Linked DNA regions of Homo sapiens: region 2 is linked to region 1. Evidence: promoter capture Hi-C in human tissues and cell types (Jung and others, 2019). All regions are on one chromosome and are shown on one strand. Each heading gives the region's core, a stretch centred on a gene start or on the middle of the fragment in contact. The rest is flanking DNA. Distances are from core to core; before and after follow the strand shown.

The links. Contacts are between HindIII fragments. The study calls those that stand out against the background at their distance.
Region 2: a fragment that was not itself captured here is called in contact with the fragment with the promoter of TTLL4 in region 1 in 1 of the 25 tissues and cell types used here (aorta).

Annotation. Positions count from the first base shown.
Region 1 is chr2:218,708,503-218,713,078 of GRCh38, reverse strand. It overlaps TTLL4 (tubulin tyrosine ligase like 4), which reads right to left and starts at 2,244. Exons shown (of 20, transcript NM_014640.5): 1 at 2,042-2,244. It overlaps LOC124907983 (a long non-coding RNA gene), which reads left to right and starts at 1,595. Exons shown (of 2, transcript XR_007088089.1): 1 at 1,595-1,859; 2 at 2,993-3,477. RefSeq lists silencers at 1,853-1,902, 1,913-1,962 and an enhancer at 2,343-2,442. The HindIII fragment of the contact is 14,281 bases long and covers 1-4,576 here.
Region 2 is chr2:218,424,259-218,428,831 of GRCh38, reverse strand. VIL1 (villin 1) reads right to left here. Exons shown (of 20, transcript NM_007127.3): 3 at 4,481-4,555; 4 at 3,021-3,217; 5 at 759-867; 6 at 495-605. Among named protein-coding and RNA genes, the nearest start is that of VIL1, 7.4 kb to the right of the region's middle. RefSeq lists a silencer at 2,826-3,043 and an enhancer at 3,926-4,426. The HindIII fragment of the contact is 4,827 bases long and covers 122-4,573 here.

The DNA of each region.
Region 1 (4,576 bases), core at 995-3,494:
ATCTTACTGAGTAACACACACCTGAACTAAAAGAAATCTCTTTAAAAATTTTACGCAAGTTTTATCCAAATAACTTAAAAATTCCATTGTCCCAAAAGACATTCCCGTTACATTTAACTGTTGTGTTCTTTTCAGAATATCTTAACAAAGAATACAGTTTACACGAATGGGATTGTGTATTGGCAAGCCTTCTGGGTTGGGAGGTAACTTAAATCACTAAAGGAGGTGTTCCTGAAAATAAATATTTCCAAAGTAGTCCTTATTTGTATCTGAGGACATTTTTACACTCAGGCCAATACACCATATTAAAATTTGGGAAGTGTGAGGGATTTGCCACACACAGCCTCCTACCCTTTTTTTGTAAGGGAAGTTTTAGAAAAAGAGTTCATTGGGGCCGGGCGCGGTGGCTCACACCTGTAATCCCAACATTTTGGGAGGCCGAGGCGGGTGAATCACGAGGTCAGGAGTTTGAGACCAGCCTGGCCAAGATGGTGAAACCCCGTCTCTACTAAAAAATACAAAAAATTAACCGAGCGTGGCAGCATGCGCCTCTAATCCCAGCTACTCCGGAGAATGAGGTAGGAGAATCGCTTGAACCCAGGAGGTGGAAGTTGCAGTGAGCCAAGATCGTGCCATTGCACTCCAGCCTGGGTGACGGAGCAAGACTCTGTCTCAAAAAAAAAAAAAAAAGTTCACTGGGAAGCTGAGGATCTGGAAATGTATTCATGTTAAGCTAGACGTGCAAGTGTATCCCTTGGAAGTCTACAACCCTGATTACTCCAGCTTGAAAACCACTGCTCCAGGGATATAGTTCTAACTCAGCAAAACATCCAAGGCCCTTTGTGATCTAACCCCTATTAACTTCACTCTTTCTATTTGTTACTGGATGGCTCCCTCCAAATCTAGCCCAGGTCTGTCAAACTGTTTCCAGTTCTCTTTTCAGGACTTGCTGTCCCTTTCCTAAAGCCACTGTGTATCTGGAATGTCCTCCCACCTCTCTATTCGCAGAAAACACTTGATAATTTTTCAAGGATTGATTCAGTCCAATATAAGTAGCTGCTAACTTTCTGAGCACAAAGTGGGTGGTTTAAATGCAAACAGTGTCTCAGTATTCAGTGCAAGAAACAGAAGGATGGGATGGAACACTGTCCCAAAGGGTCCCCCAAATGCTAAATCAACAGGTGCTGCAGTTAAAGAATAGGTGATTTGTAGTATCTGAGAAAGCAAAGAAGATTTCATCAAGGAAGGATTAAAATATTTCCGAGATCCAGAATGGGAATGTGAAGACCAGGAGGAATGGCAATAATGTCGTTTTCTAAGTAAGTCCGGATTAAGTATTTCCTGTTCTATCACAGCACACACCACAGTATGGCAAATGCTCGTTTACTTGATTAATAATCTCCTAGACTGTAAATTCCGTGAAAACATGCTTGTCCTATTAGCCACTCTATCCCCTCAATCCCTCCCATTGTACCCAGGCTCATTAAATATTTGTCAATGTTTACTAAAAATTGTTTAGTGAATGATTAAATAAAGGAATTGATGAATGAAGAATTAAATTCCACAGGATCTCAGATCCTGTTTGAATCTGTGGAGTTTAGGAACGTATTCTTCTACAGATACTGAGGATGGAGAAGTGAAAAAGCAGATATCCATGTTAAATTCGGCCCTGGAGCCTGCGAGGAGCTTGGGCTCACACCCAGAGGGAATTTAAACCTCAGCGCGGCAGGACAGAGGAAGCTCGGAGGCCATAACTAGGGGATGAGGCAGTGTTCGGGCACCCGGAGGCGAGGCCGACTAAGTTCGCGGGGCGTGGCGGAGAGGAGAAGGGCTCCGAGGAGGCGCGAAGTCCCGGCCGGGTAGGAGGCCGCGGCTCCCTGGCCTCCCGGGGGATGAGAGGTGGCGGGAGGAAGCGGGGCTAGGGTGAGAGTGGCCGGAGGGCTGGGGACCCGCGCGAAAGGACTCAGGTAGAGGGAGGTCGGGAGCGTGGGACCGGCGGAGTGTCTGGGGTCGGCTCCCCTGGCTCCGCAGCCGCACTCACCTAGGGGATCCAGCTTCGCCCCGGCTCGGCACCGGCTCCACGCTACTTCCTCCCTCGGCCTGCTGGGCTACCCGGCAGCCTCAGGCGCCCCTAGCAACCACGCACCGCCACGCGTGACAAGCGCACTCGGCCGCCAGCGCCGCTGCCGCCTGCCACACACCGCGCGCGCCCCCAGCGGACAGACCGAGAGTCTGGAAGAAGAGGGCGGGAGGCAAGCGCGGGGAATCTCGGGGGTTCTGGGGCCTGTAGGGGCGGGTCGTCACCTGACTCGCGCACGCGCAGTCCCTTCAGTGCGGTGGGATCCGGCGAGCGGAATTCTGGGAGATGTAGTCCCGTGGTTAAAGCTCTGAAAGGCTCCATTCGGAGCATCCAGGACTCTCTCTTTCTACTCTAATTCCACCTACTCCCTATGGACTGTTTTCTTTTTTAGAGACAGAATCTCGCTCTGTCGCCCAGGCTGGAGTGCAGCGACGTGATCATAGCTCACTGCGAACTTGAACTCCTGCTCAAGCGATCCGCCCGCCCCCAGCCTTCCGAGTAGCTGGGACTACAGGCACGCCACCATGCTGGGCTATTTTTAAATTTTTTTTCTCAGGACAGGGTCTCACTATGTTACCCAGACTGGTCTTAAACTCTTGGCCTCAAGTGATCCTCCTGCATCAGCCTCCTGGTCGCTGGGATTACAACGGGAGCCCCCACGCCTGGCCTGGACTCTTTGGCCTTGCCTCAATTGAAAATCAAAGGGCCCAGGCTCAGTTGAAGGATTTCTAGAAAAAGCCTTTGAGTTTGACCGCAGGAAAGGGGAGATTGCCCGATTCACTCTGCCTCCCTCTAACCCATCCTTCCCTAACCCCAACCCACCCAGCGGGGCAAAATTAAAACCACCTGCCTGCTTTATGGGCTTCAAGTGTGAACGTTAGGAAATACTGACTCAATTCCTTATCTCGTTAGCTCCCCAGGCAAGCCAGATCGCGCTCCTGCCTCAGATGTCCGTAGACCTGAGAGATTTGGAGATCTAAGAAAGCTGGAAGATGAAAGGATCTTTCCTAGGCAATTGGCTACAGAAATAAAGGGGACAAAGATAAAACTAATCTGATGAAAACAGTCTGGACCAGAGGAAGGATCTCAATAAATAACTTATTTAGTCAACAGTCGTTGATGGATGCTAAAAGTATTAGATAATTTATGGGAGAATTTTACACTGAAGGATGTACACTGAAGATAACCTACATGTACTAATCAATCTTAGATCACGAAACATGGGACAGCTGAGCATTGTTTCTTGATGTGATGCAATTGAACAGAAATATTTATGAAGTATAGCGTATTTTTGTAAAAAAAAAAGTTGAGTGACTCTAATCAAGTTTTGGCTGTAATTTCCAGTTAACAAGAAATAAAGAGAAACAACTGTATAACACTACAAGAAAGCAATCAAACAAATCCAGAATGTGAGCCAATGTACAGAATAAATGACCTCTTCTTCCTTCAACAATTTTAGGGTATAAAAATGAGGAGAGATGTTTTAGATTATAAGAGATTTAAGAAATATATTCAAATGTTGGCCAGGTACAGTGGCTCACACTTGTAATCCCAACACTCTGAGGATCACTTGAGGTCAGGAGTTCAAGACCAGCCTGGGCAACATGGTGAAACCCCGTCTCCAACAAAAAATACAAAAATTAGCCAGGCATGGTGGTGCACACCTGTAGCCCCCAGCTACTCAGGAGGCTGAGACAGGAGAATCGCTTGAACCCAGGAGACAGAAGTTGCAGTGAGCCAAGATTGTGCCACTGCATTCCACCCTGGGCAACAGAGCAAGACTCCCTCTTGAGAAAAAAAAAAGAAATATATTCAAATGCAATGAGTGCAGCTTGTTTGGATCCTGATTCAAACAAACTGTAAAATGACATTTTTGAGACTGAGAAATAAAAATTTTAAGTACCACCCCAACCAACTTAATGGACCCCATCGTGGCTAAGGGGACACTAGAGCAACCTTAAAAACTGAGTTCCCGGCCGGGCGCAGTGGCTTACGCCTGTAATCCCAGCACTTTGAGAGGCCAAGGCGGGCGGATCACGAGGTCAGGAGATCGAGACCATCCTGGCTAACACGGTGAAACCCCACCTGTACTAAAAATACAAAAAATTAGCTAGGCGTGGTGACGGGCGCCTGTAGTCCCAGCTACTAGGGAGGCTGAGGCAGGAGAATGGCGTGAACCCGGGAGGCAGAGCTTGCAGTGAGCCAAGATCGCACCACTGCACTCCAGCCTGGGCAACAAAGCAAGACTCTTTGAAAAAAAAAAAAAAGAAAGAAAAAAAAAACTGAATTCCTGGCTATGATGAGATGGGAAGTCCAACACACCTCAATATGCCCCTTCCTTATTAACCTTTAAACAGAATTCTTTCCTAAGGAGTAAGCAGAAACCAGCTCTAGAAATCAAGAAAGGGATGATTAATCCTTCATTGGTTTTAGAGGCCAGAACCAGACTCCCTACTCTTTGCACTTTCCTTTTCTTTTCTTTTCTTTTTTTTTTTT
Region 2 (4,573 bases), core at 1,286-3,785, 280 kb after region 1:
GGTGTGGTGATGCACGCCTGTAATCCCAGCTACTCGGGAGGCTGAAGCAGGAGAATCACTTGAACCCAGAAGGCGGAGGTTGCGGTGAGCTGAGATTGCGCCATTGCACTCCAGCCTGGGCAAAAAGAGCAAAACTGTGTTTCCAAAAAAAAAATCTCTTTGCACCCAAACATGCCTGCAGTCTCACAGTGCACACACAGCGTCAATGTACTGTGAGTATAAACACACGTATGTCCATGCCCATTTCATTCACCACTGGATCCCTAAGGCTTGGCACAGGCTCTGTCACACTGTAGAGACTCATTCTATCTGAGTGGATTGACCACAAGTACACACACGCAAACTCCAACATGCATGCCTGCACCAAACACATGGAGACTGAGCCACCTTCAAACATGCTGTCCCCAGCAGTCAGCGGGGAGAGGCCTGGGGAAAGGAGCAGGTGGGGGCAGTCTAGGATTCGAGAGGGAGGTGTGGTGCATGGGCAGGTTTACCCTGAGTCTCTCCATACGGGTGCTTTCCGGTCCATTCCACTGGATGATAAGCTTCCCAAGGTCCAGGAGGAAAACATCCCCTCGGTTGAAACTCTTCCAGGACATCTCTACCTAGGGAGCCACAGGGGAGGCACAGACCCCACTCAGAGCTCACCTATCATCCATCATCTTGGCCATCCCTCCCTGCCCCTCACCCCTCCTCAGCCCCTGCCCTCCACCCTGGGCCTCACAGCCCTGGCCGATGCTCCAGTGGGGCCTGCCTACCTCTCCAGCTACCACGTTCCTCTTGCCCTTGACATGCAGCAGCCTCTGGACGTCATAGGAGTTGGTCTCCACGTGCTTCATGCCAGAAGCCACGCCCCCTTTCCGGATCCTGAGAAGAGAGGTGAGCTGACCCAAGGAAGTGGGCTGGGAGGTGTGCCTGGCCCCTGTTCTCCCAGGTCCTGGCTGCCACGCTGGGGTCACGTGAGGGCCAGGGTGGGAGTAGGCGAGGTCAATGAGGTGCTGAGGGCGCAAACTTTAGGGAGTCACTCACTGTCAGGTCCTGAAAGTGCAAGGTCTGCCTGTGGCATGCCCTTGCACGACCCTGACAGTGAGAGCAACCTTAAAGTCTGCACCCTAGATCTTCACTCGTCTTGCCCTAGTCCCTGCCCTGTGGAGAGGCCTGCAAAGATAGGGTCATGATATATTAAGAGTAGGAAATATATTAATAGGCCAGGTGCGGTGACTCACACCTATAATCCCAGCACTTTGGGAGGCCGAGGTGGGCAGATCATTTGAGGTCAGGAGTTCCAGACCAGCCTGGCCAACATGGTGAAGCCCCATCTCTACTAAAAATACAAAAAATTAGCTGGGCATGGTGGCGGGTGCCTGTAATCCCAGCTACTCAGGAGGCTGAGGCAGAAGAATTGCTTGAACCCAGGAGGCGGAGGTTTGCAGTGAGCCGAGATCGCACCATTGCACTCTAGCCTAAGCGACAGAGTGAGACTCCATCTCAAAAAAAAAAAAAAAGGAAATGTATTAATAAATAGGGACAGAATCCTGAGGACAGGGGATCAAAGTGGAAGAAAAGAAAAGAATGGAGAGGTGCCACTCCAGTGCCCATGGCAGTGGACTACTGCCATAGCGTGGGAAGAGAGGAGCAAGACAAAAAAAGAGTGGGAACTGTGGCTAATTAGAGAGCCCTCAGCCTGTCCTACAGGTCAGTAACAACTCAGCTCCAGAGTGTGTGTTTTCCTGGGGAAAGCTAAGCTAGAACTTCAACTTGTATAGAAAAGCCAGCAGTCTGGGCTGGGAGTGGTAGCTCATGCCTGTAATCCCAGGACTTCAGGAGGCTGAGGTGGGAGAATCACTTGAGCCCAGGAGTATGAGACCAGCCTGGGCAACAGAGCAAGACCTTCGTCTCTACAAAATATATATATTAAAAAATTAGTGCTGGCCAGGCATGGTGGCTCACGCCTGTAATCCCAGCACTTTGGGAGGCCAAGGCGGGCAGATCATGAGGTCAGGAGATTGAGACCATCCTGGCTAACACGGTGAAACCCTGTCTCTACTAAAAATACAAAAAAATTAGCCGGACGTGGTGGTGGGCACCTGTAGTCCCAGCTGCTGGGGAGGCTGAGGCAGGAGAATGGCGTGAGCCTGGGAGGCAGAGCTTGCAGTGAGTTGAGATCGCGCCACTGCACTCCAGCCTGGGCGGCAGAACAAGACTCTGTCTCAAAAAAAAAAATTAGCTGGGCATGGTGGCTCGGGCCTGTAGTCCCAGTTACTCAAGAGGCTGAGGTGGGGCCAGACGAAGTGGCTCACGCCTATAATCCCAGCACCTTGGGAGACTGAGGCAGATGGATCACTTGAGGTCAGGAGTTTGAGATCAGCCTGCCCGTGGTGAAACCCTGTCTCTACTAAAAATACAAAAATTAGCCAGGCCTGGTGGTGTGTGCCTGTAATCCCAGCTACTGGGGAGGCTGAGGCATGAGAATCGCTTGAGCCCAGGAGGCGGAGTTTGCAGTGAGCCAAGACTGTGCCACTGTACTCCAGCCTGGGCAACAAAGCAAGACTCCATCTCAAAAAAAAAAAGGAAGAAAAAGAAAAGCTGTCGGTCTTGGTTTTTAGTGTGATAGGCCTGCATTAGAGATGGGGGAGCAGCCATTTGCCCGTTGGCCAGAGTTGGGGGGCTTGATTAGGCACTGAGCTCTCCAGGACATTCAAGTAGGAGCTGATTTACAGAGATTCACGAGAGTTATAGAATTTCAGAACAGCCTCCAGACCAAGGACAGAGCAGTGGCAGAAATAAGAGTTAGGGAGTGGAAAGGTGAGGGACAATCACCAAAAACTCATGAGGGTCCCCCTCGTGCCTCCCCCCACAGCTTCAGGGTCCCTTCCCCGCCCCAGGTCACCTCCCCCTGCTCCAAGTGTTCTTCCCAGGCCTGAACAGGTCTGGGTGTCCCTGCCTCTTCAGCTCAGCCCCAACATCTCTATCCCTACCACTCATCCTCATTCCCCCGGCCTGCAGCCCACCCTCCCTACACAAGGCCTTGCTTGAAGTAGCCTCGGAAGGCCTCGCTCTCGTTGCCCTGGACCTCGCGGTGCTGCACAGCCCGGCCCTTCAGGAAGTCATCCATCTGTGTGGTGTAGATGGCAGCTGCCCCCTGCTCATCCAGGGATGAGTCCTGGCCAATCCAGTAGTGGATGTCATAGGACAGGCTGCTGGCTGTCTTGTGGATCTAGGGAAAAGGTGTCCAGTGTACCCGAGACCCTGGGCTCCCACAGCCCCTCCAGCTCTGTGTGACCTCCCACACACGTGCCGTCCAGGACTATGGGGGAGCGTGGCACAGGGCAAGTGCACTAGGCTGGCGGTTAGGAGCCCTGAGTCATGGCCCAGCTCTACCATTGACTCTCTGAGACATGGCTTCTCCTCTCTGGGCCTCCCTTGCCTCATCTCAGAAATAACTTGCTTGTGCCAGGCACAGTGGCTCACGCCTGTAATCCCAGCACTTTGGGAGGTCGAGGCAAGTGGATCACCTGAGGTCAGGAGTTGAAGACCAGCCTGGCCAACATGGCAAAACCCTGTCTTTACTAAAAATACAAAAATTAGCCAGGTGTGGGGGCAGATGCCTGTAATCCCAGCTACTCAGGAGGCTGAGCCACGAGAATCGCTTGAATCCAGGAGGCAGAGTTTGCAGTGAGCCAAGATTGTGCCATTGCACTCCAGCCTGGGCGACAGAGCGAGACTCTGTCTCAAAAAATAATAATAATAAATACATAAAATAAAATAAAAATTTAAAATGAGTCAATATAAAGAAAAAAATACAAATGTCTTAATAGTACAGGTGGTACCAGGGTATGGTGAAAATCAAGGTGATATGAAGATGACTGCCAGGCTGGGCATGGTGGCTCATGCCTGTAATCCCAGCATTTTGGGAGGCTGAGGCGAGTGGATCACCTGAGGTCAAGAGTTCGAAACCAGCCTGATCAACATGGTGAAACCCCGTTTCTACTAAAAAATACAAAAAAATTAGCTGACTGTGGTGGCACGTGCCTGTAGTCCAAGCTACTCAAGAGGCTGAGGCAGGAGAATCGCTTGAACCCGGGAAGTGGAGGTTGCAGTGAGCCGAGGTCGCTCCACTGCACTCCAGCCTGGGTGACAGAGTGAGACTCCATCCGGAAAAAAATTTTAAAAAAAGAAGATGACTATGGATTGTGGAAATGTGGACTCAAGTTAGGGTGATACGGCAACAACTCAGAAGTTTCCCCAAGACTGTGAATCCACAGAAGTTGACCTCAGCTGGGAGCTCAGTGGATCAAGGGCAGCAAGAGCCTCTGACCTCTGTGAAGCCCCCACAGGGTTGGGCACTTGGGCATACCCAGTAAATTGTGTCTTGGGGTGAAGCCAGGCCAACTCTCCCCACGGCCCCCAGCCTGTTTCCTCCCTGACACCACAGTGGGTTTTGCTCTCTGCTCAGCCCCCTCCCCTGCCCCTGACTCACAGCCAGGATGATGTAGCAGTCACCATCGAAGAAGCTTCCAAAGGTGCTGGAAGGAACAGGCACCATCTGCATGGCCTAAGGAGAGAAAGAGGG